2 separate regions of the Homo sapiens genome follow, and region 2 is linked to region 1. The links are contacts of gene promoters, found by promoter capture Hi-C in blood cells and fetal thymus (Javierre and others, 2016). All regions are on one chromosome and are shown on one strand. The core of a region is centred on a gene start or on the middle of the fragment in contact, and the rest is flanking DNA. Distances in the headings are between cores, read along the strand shown. Region 1 holds the start of NKX2-3 (NK2 homeobox 3). Region 2 overlaps ENTPD7 (ectonucleoside triphosphate diphosphohydrolase 7).

The links. The method cuts DNA at HindIII sites, captures the fragments that hold promoters and counts their contacts. A CHiCAGO score of 5 or more calls a contact.
Region 2: a fragment that was not itself captured here is called in contact with the fragment with the promoter of NKX2-3 in region 1 in 2 of 17 cell types (megakaryocytes and naive B cells); the score reaches 6.8 in megakaryocytes.

What each region holds. Positions count from the first base shown.
Region 1 is chr10:99,531,262-99,535,461 of GRCh38, forward strand. It overlaps NKX2-3 (NK2 homeobox 3), which reads left to right and starts at 1,681. Exons shown (of 2, transcript NM_145285.3): 1 at 1,681-2,228; 2 at 3,724-4,200. The coding sequence starts at 1,871. RefSeq lists an enhancer at 1,011-1,902 and a silencer at 4,044-4,193. The HindIII fragment of the contact is 5,996 bases long and covers 1,211-4,200 here.
Region 2 is chr10:99,710,423-99,714,795 of GRCh38, forward strand. It overlaps ENTPD7 (ectonucleoside triphosphate diphosphohydrolase 7), which reads left to right. Exons shown (of 13, transcript NM_020354.5): 13 at 1-819. COX15 (cytochrome c oxidase assembly factor COX15) reads right to left here. Exons shown (of 9, transcript NM_078470.6): 9 at 446-4,296. The coding sequence ends at 4,165. Among named protein-coding and RNA genes, the nearest start is that of COX15, 20 kb to the right of the region's middle. The HindIII fragment of the contact is 672 bases long and covers 1,519-2,190 here.

The DNA of each region.
Region 1 (4,200 bases), core at 431-2,930:
CTGCAGAGCCCCGCCTCTCCCACCTCCCGACAGGCTGTTCTTTCTCCCTTCAACCTTGGGCACCCACTCCTGTCGCCGTTGCGGGACCCGCGTGGCAGCCCTCCACCCTCGTACCCACTCCCAGCCGGTGTCTTATGCCGCTCGGAGGCAATGTCCACCGTCCCTGCACCTTTCACCTGCCCCTTCCAGGTGAGACGGGTCTCTTTCAGCTCCGCCATCCTGACCGCCAAAAAATGCTTGGATTGGCTGGGGCCGGATGAGGACAGCCACGGTTGAGCTGGAACCGTTCCCTATTTTTTTAAGGCCAGCGCTGCACACGGGTCTTTCTGTGGCCCTCAAAGCAGCGCCCGCTGCTCCTCACTGGGCTAGGCCTGGTAGCGAGCAAATGCCTATTGTGGGAGAAGATGGTCCCAGAGTTTCCAGCTCAGAGTTTCCAGAATCTGTGGGGGACTGTATAGACTCCCCCAGAAAACAACCAGGGCCTCATGAAGGTGCCAGAAGGCGTGTAGGTAGAGAAATTTTAAAAGCCTGTCGGAGAGGCAAGGCCTACATTCAGGCTCCTGATTTCAATAGGTGGAAAAGAAGGCTGCCAAGGCTGGGTCACCTCCCTTGTGAGGACAGATCCTGCTCTCAGTATGTGCCACACTCCAGCCACGCACCACCAATGCAGTCAACAAACACTGCTTGACCTCCCATACAGAAAAGCAGTCGTTGACACGTACTGAGCGCTTAACACGCGTGAGGCCGTGCACTAAGATTCTGGCATGTTTTGCCTCATTCAACCCTAGCAACAACCAAAAAAGGTATTACTGCCTTCGTTTTATAGACGAGAAAACAGACTTAGAAACGCCGAAGATCACACACTGACTAGGCCAAGCAAGAGCTGTCGAATACCAAAGTTTAGTCATAACTCTATCTTCCTTTCACATACTGCTCTGTGCGGCTGCTGCCAGGGATACAAGGGCAAAAGCAACCCCGGGACACTGCCCTCATGGAGCTTACAGTCTAACTGGGGCGACCAGGCAGGCACATACAGCTATAGAATTAAGTGGGAAGTGATAAGTGACATGCATGTCCTTTGCTAACACAAGCTGCAGGTTCAGAGCCTGAAAGAGGGGACTTCCGGCTAGACGATCTAGGAGCTCTTCCTTGGAGAACAGTTTCCACTCGTGGAGGCTAAGTGTCAGAAACATGTTCCAAGTGGAGAGAAAGCTTGAGCAAAGGCAACAAGTTGAAAAAGGACATGTCGCCCACCCATAGATAGATAAAACACTGCATCTCCTCGTGGATCCAGCGCCCAGTATTTACCCGCCAGGAAGTTTTCCTGCCCCGCGCAGCAGCTGAAAAAAACACACTCCTGGGGCATCCTTCCCTGGCGTTGGTTCGTGGACAGCAAGCCTCCCAGAACTGGCCTAGGTCGGGAAGGTGCAGCCACGCGGGAATCAATGGTTCAGGAACCGGATCTGTGCAGCCTCGCCCGCAGCGTCTCGGACTTCAGGACTCTATACTAGTCCTTGTCTATTTCTGGTAGAGCCGCAACATCCCACTCGCAGAGAGCAGGGGGCGTGGCCCACATGAGCCAGAACCTATAGGGAGGGAGGTTGGGGCGCCAGCCCCGCCCCCCCAACGTGACGCAAATCTCCCGGACAGAGGCTTAGGAGCCCGGGCCCCAGTCCCTGCAGTGGCTGTAACAAAACCCAGACCCCCAGGTCCCGGCCAATGGAGGCGATTTAGACTGGAGTGGGACCGCGTCTGTCAAAAGCCCGACTCGGCAGCAGCGGCGGAGTCCAGGAGGAGAGCTGGAGCCGCCGCGCTGCCTCCCCGCCCCCGCCGGGATTTATTATTTGGACTGGACAATTAAGTGGCCCTGATGATGTTACCAAGCCCGGTCACCTCCACCCCTTTCTCAGTCAAAGACATTTTGAATCTGGAGCAGCAGCACCAGCACTTCCATGGTGCGCACTTGCAGGCGGACTTGGAGCACCACTTCCACTCTGCGCCCTGCATGCTGGCCGCCGCTGAGGGGACGCAATTTTCTGACGGAGGGGAGGAGGACGAGGAAGACGAGGGCGAGAAATTGTCCTATTTGAACTCACTAGCCGCAGCAGACGGCCACGGGGATTCAGGGCTGTGTCCCCAGGGCTATGTCCACACGGTCCTGCGAGACTCGTGCAGCGAGCCCAAGGAACATGAAGAGGAGCCCGAGGTCGTGAGGGACCGGAGCCAAAGTGAGTAGAGGGGGAAAGAAAACGCACCCGCACACCTGGAGCAATGGCAGAGCGCACACAAACAGCCCACAGACCTTGCCAGCGCAGCTGCCCATCCCTTTACCCTTTGGCTGGGGCCATGCCTCCGCCCTGGTCACCGACAGCTCCACAAAGCGCAGGTACCTGCAAGGGAGCCGGGGTGGAGAGACAAGGACGAGGTGACCCTGACAACTACTCCCCCCAAAAGGGGGAAATGAGGGAAGGGAAGGTGGTTACTGCTGCCCTGATGCTGAGAGGCGACGTGGGCTCAGCGCCTGGGTCCTCATAACTGGCAGTATTTTTGCTCTTCCCCCCGCCCCAAAAGGCTCTTCCCCCAAAAAGGGCAGGAGCCTGGACCTTTTTCGTTTTCCCTCTAGGGTGAGATGAGTTCTCTTAGCCCAGGGCAGCCACCCCTTCTTCTCCGAAAAGACAGCCCAAGCAGCCTGTGTCTCTCGCACCCGCAGGGGCAGGAACTTTGGTGGAGGCCAGCTGGGCGGTTTCCTCCCTTCTCTGCTTGGAGCTCAGCGTCCTTGAACCCGTGGCACTCGGTAGAGAGAGAGGAGATGATCGGAAAGTGCGTGGGAACAATGTCTATTCCGCGCGACCATAGCTCTCACATCCCTAAGGCGCCAGCCTTTTTTGAAAATCCGTAACGTTTTGCTTTGTGTCCCAGGCTGCGGGCCTAATAGAAAACGCGCCGAACTTGAGTCCGAGATCTTGGCTGCTCACATCGGATGGGAAGTGAATTGATAGGGAGATGGGATAATCAAATAAAGTCCCCAAGGAAGTGTATTTAAGAGGACAGAATCACAGTCTTTCCCCAAGAGGCGGTTTGATGTGGCAGAGGCCAAGGCCTATGCTCTCATAGTTCCCAGAGCCGAAAATCGGCATGAAACTGTCTATAACTAGTCAATCAAACTTCATTTTCAAAGTGCACACAGATGTCGTCATAACATTCGCTTGTAGTCTTTTATAAGCCACACACACACACAAGTCCCTGAGCCATGCACAAGCGTTACACTCAGAACAGATTTTCGCGCAACCCATGCCCACCGGCCCACTCATACCAACACGCCTCACACCTTCAGTTATCCTTGGTGGAGTAGAATGCAAACGAGTTTGCAAATACTGTAGTTATTATGTAGTTGCAAGCCTTCATCCTGAAAATAGTCATTAGCACGTCGAGCCGCATATTTAATACAGAGTAATCTCTTCTCTCGCAGATGCTCAAGATCCAAATAAACACGCACTAACTACCCCTCTCCACGAAACGCGCCTCCGCCTGCTAAGGGCGTTCTTTGGGTACTGGGGCTGTCTCAGGGTCCCACAGCGCCAGGAGCCACAAACGTTCCCAAAAGTCCAGCCATTTACTACCGCACGCTCTGCGCAGCCACCAAAAAGGGTCACGGTGCTCCAGGACAGGAGCCGCGGTGCGGCCGGGAACAGCTAAGGACGCTGTTGTTTGCTTCTTCCGCAGAAAGCTGCCAGCTGAAGAAGTCTCTAGAGACGGCCGGAGACTGCAAGGCGGCGGAGGAGAGCGAGAGGCCGAAGCCACGCAGCCGCCGGAAGCCCCGGGTCCTCTTCTCGCAAGCCCAGGTCTTCGAGCTGGAACGCAGGTTCAAGCAGCAGCGGTACCTGTCGGCACCCGAGCGCGAGCACCTCGCCAGCAGCCTGAAGCTCACATCCACTCAGGTGAAAATCTGGTTCCAGAATCGCAGGTACAAGTGCAAGAGACAGCGGCAGGACAAGTCTCTGGAGCTTGGCGCACACGCGCCCCCGCCGCCGCCGCGCCGCGTGGCTGTCCCGGTGCTGGTGCGGGACGGCAAGCCGTGCGTCACGCCCAGCGCGCAGGCCTACGGCGCGCCCTACAGCGTGGGCGCCAGCGCCTACTCCTACAACAGCTTCCCCGCCTACGGCTATGGGAACTCGGCCGCGGCCGCCGCCGCCGCCGCCG
Region 2 (4,373 bases), core at 605-3,104, 180 kb after region 1:
GTGAAAGACATCTTTTTATTATGATCTACACTTTAAAAAACCAAAGGCTGCCTGTATTACATTGCTTTGGGGAGTTGTTAAGACTCTGTTTTTTCTACTGCTTCACATTAAACAATAATTTTGTTGAATTTTGAATTCTTAAAATTCTCACTGACAAACATTTTAGGTCAGTGTTGAGGAAAATGTGTGATGCATGTTAGAGAGGTGATGCATTCTCCCTTATGCAGGGACATGGGTATATGTGTTACATATGCTGATATATAACCCACCATTCATCCCAGGACCACAAGGGTAGCTGTAGATAAACTGGTTATCCTAAAATCATGATTATCAGTGTTGATCTCTGCAACCAACATTGCTTTAGGGAGTTGCTAGTCATTACCCCTGCTACAATAGATAGTATTTGTCAGTCTAAGTTACAGACAAAAAATTCTAGGTTGACTGATTAAGAAAGCCATGTGTTTTAATTTCCTTCATGTTTTAAAAACAATGGACGTAAGTGCAGAGAGACCTTTGAAAATATTAAGGGAAATCTATTTAATCCTATAGGTATGTGATGACTTGTTTTTTTGGAAAAAGGTATTTGGAACATCAATCTGTAATTATCCATTTTCCATTCATGCATTCACTAATTCAATATTTGATATGTGTCTGGGAGTGCTGGGAATAACATAAATACAAAAAAAACCCTAAGATAATCATTCACCAGAAGCTCATAGATATAATACAGTTATATAGCTAAATGCAACCAGTTGTTTTTCCAAATGTACTCATCATCTGTAATAAAAGAAAAATGAAGTAAAACATCTGAAACCTTAACTTACTCATGAGTTGCTACTTCCTTGGAGGCAACTGTAGAAGCATTAATATATGGTTCTTTGGGTTGGGTCATACTGCCCTCTGCTGACTCAGTTACTAACTAAGGACAACCTGGGTTTGAGGATCAGGAGAGGATGGTGTGGGAACCTGCCTCAGGAACTACAGTTCCCTTTCTTTGAAGGATTCTATCCAGAAGAGACCATATCCTACTAACATACTAATAGGAGCAACATAGCAGATCAAATGATAAGGTGGGGTGGAAATTAGAAGGGAATGGGAATAAGCTAGTCAGAACTTTCTAAGGTAACTAGGCTATTAGGACCTAAGCCAGTGGTCCCTAGACTTGTCTGCACATTGGAATCACCTGGGGAACTTTAAAAATATGCCTTTTACTTCCTCCAGGGATTGTGACTTAATTGGTCTTAGATGAGGCTTGGGCTTTGGGATTTTTCTAAGATTCAAATAAGAGAGAAGTTGGGAATCTCTTCTAGGCAATAGCATAAGCCCAGCCAGGGTCCAGCATTTATGAAAAATTGACAAACTGTTTTGCTAAGAATCACCTGTGTTAGTCGGCTTGCATTGCTATAAGGAAATACTGACAATTTTTAGAAAGAAAAGAGGTTTATTTGGCTCACTGTTCTGCATAGAACTGTATAGGAAGCATGGCGCTGGCATCTGCTTCTGGTGAGGGCCTCACGAAGCTTACAATCATGGCAGAAGGTGAAGGGGAGCCAGTGTGTCACATGGTGAGAGAGAGCAAGCGAGAGAGGAGGAAGTTCCAGGCTCTTTTAAACAACCAGCTCTTGCATAAACAACCAGAGTGAGAACTCACTCATTACTATGGGGATGGCACAAAGTCATACATAAGGGATCCGCCCCCATGACCCAAATACCTCCTACTAGGCCCACCTCTAACACTGAATGTCACACTTTGAACATGAGATTTGGAGGGGACAAAACATCCAAACCATATCACCACCTGAGAATGGTACACTACAGGTCACAGAAACTTACAGAGTACTGGAGTTGAAAGAGAACTGAGATCACCTAGTTCAGAGACTAACGGGAAACGTTAGGTCATTTATGGCTCTCAGACACGTTAAGCCTGCATAACATTTTTTAAAATCTTGAAATTAGTTCCCAACACTTAATTGAGAGCTTTCACAGAAAAATCTAGATATGTGGCTTATTTTTAAAAAACAGAAGATTTGCTGACTTAAACACTGCAAAATTAAACATTTATATCTGAATCCAGCATCTCTTTTTGCTTTGTAAATGAGGTCAAGGATGAAATCCAGATGTTCTTCCTTTGTATTTGTATTGTCACTGTATGGAATCTAGGTATATCCAAGGAAAAATAAACTTAAGATAAGCTTATTTTCCTTATTTCAAAAAGCAAAACAAAAACCCAGAAGATCTAACAACCCTGGACCTGTAGAGTGGCAGCAACAGACCAGAACTCAGCAGTATAGTCCGAGCTGGGGCACCTGCTCGCCAGTGTTACTGTCTCCATCAGCCTGACCCCAGTGAGCATTTGATTTGGTCTACCCTACTCTTGCCTTCTACAGAACTAAAACTAACTTCCTGCAACTTTCATCCATTGCTGCCAGCTCTGCAGCATAATGGAAGCTCATTCCCTCTTCTGCATGAGACGGCTTCAACTTCTCAAGGACAGGAATCTTGCTCTCTCTCCAGATGTTCTCTGCTCCAGTTAAATATCCCTAGTTCCTTCACCTATTCCCTGTGTGACAGGGGTTCTGGACTCATCATTCTGATCTCTTCTTCTGGATACACACTTAGTGGCCATCAATATCTTGCTTAAATTTGGTACCCAGAGTGAAATGCAGTATGTTAGGGGTATTTTGACTATGGCTGTGACACTTCTACTGATAAAACCTGAAGTACCACTAATTTTTCTGTTATCATATAATAACAACATGAATACTACTTGGTTCATATTGAACCTGAGGACAACTAAAATCCCGTCTTTTTTATATGAAATGATATAAGGCCAGGTTTCTTCAGCCCAAACTTATACAACTTATTTAATTTAAATGAGTATGTTACATTTCTAATCTGTTTAATTTCATCTCGATGGGGTCATTCTGGGACTGTTTTCAGTTGCCACTGTCATCTATTATATTAGCAATATTGGGTTGCTCCATCCTCAAATCAGATGTTTCTGATGCCTTCATCCAAATCACTGATTTTAAAAGTAAAGTTGAATAAGACAGGGCCCTATGAAATATCAATAGAGACCAAAATCACATTAATTCAGCAGTCAACAATTTGTTTATCTGGGTAGATGTCCATGCACTACACCATCAAGGCCATATTTTTCTTATTACAAAGCTGTTAGGAAACCCTCTCAGGAACCAATTTATACTGTCGATTCCATTCCTCTCTCTGACCTTGTAATGTTAACAGCCTTATCAAAAGAGGAACTAGCTGGGCGTGGTGGCCCATGCCTGTAATCTCAGCACTTTGGGAAGCCGAGATGGGCGGATTACCTGAGGTCAGGAGTTCAAGACCAGCCCGGCCAATGTGGTGAAACCCCTTCTCTACTAAAAATACAAAATTAGCCAGGCATGGTGACTTGTGCCTGTAGTCCCAGCTACTCGGGAGGCTGAGGCATGAGAATCGCTTGAACCTGGGAAGTGGAGGTTGCAGAGTGAGCTGAGATCACGCCATTGTACTCCAGCCTGGGCAACAAGAGTGAAACTCTGTCTCAAAAAAAAAAAAAAAAATGGAACTATTTGGCGATTACCTCCTTTTCCAAGTACTTAAAAACCATTTTGCTACATATACACATTAAGCTTGTCAAAATCTGCAATTTCCCCATTTCTGAAAATCAGGATATTAGAAGACATTAGCTTTTTTTTTTTTGCTGAAGACCAGCTGGCTACTTTGGGTATGTCAATCCTATCCTTTCAATCTTCACCTAATGGAAGTGAAGTTAAGATCATAAAGAAATTCTATTTAGGCAGAATTAAGGACTCAGGAGAACATCCACGTAGAAATCATCCACGTAGAACCAAGAGCTTGCCAACACTGAAAAACCTGACACAAAGCCTGTTAAGCAGCAAATGGCAGACATTTCTTTCTCTACATTAAAACTGATTTTCAACATGAAAAGCAGATTTAAAAGGGAACATTTAGGGTAACCACACTTAATGCATTCTTGATCCAGTGACTATCTCAAAACAGGAAAAGATTTTTAAGTAAGTTGACCATTTGGAAACCACTTGGTATGTCAAGGTCATCTCGTAGAAAAGCCCAAGTTCTTATGATCTCTGAAGAGCTCTCAAAAGCAGTCACAGTCCCAGGAGGCTGGTCCTCTAAGAATCATTTTGGGACTCTTCGGAGTTCATTCATCAGCCAAAGAGCACCAGTGAGCAAAGCCAAGGAGCCTGACTGGTGAGTGGCGGCCAGAGGAGTTGGGACATACATCAGCAGCGTGCTGATGCCCAAGCCCACCTGTCACAAAGGAAAGAAGGCAATAGGAAAGGCAGTAACCCAAAGTTCACATTGAAAATGGCCAGGCGTGGATAACC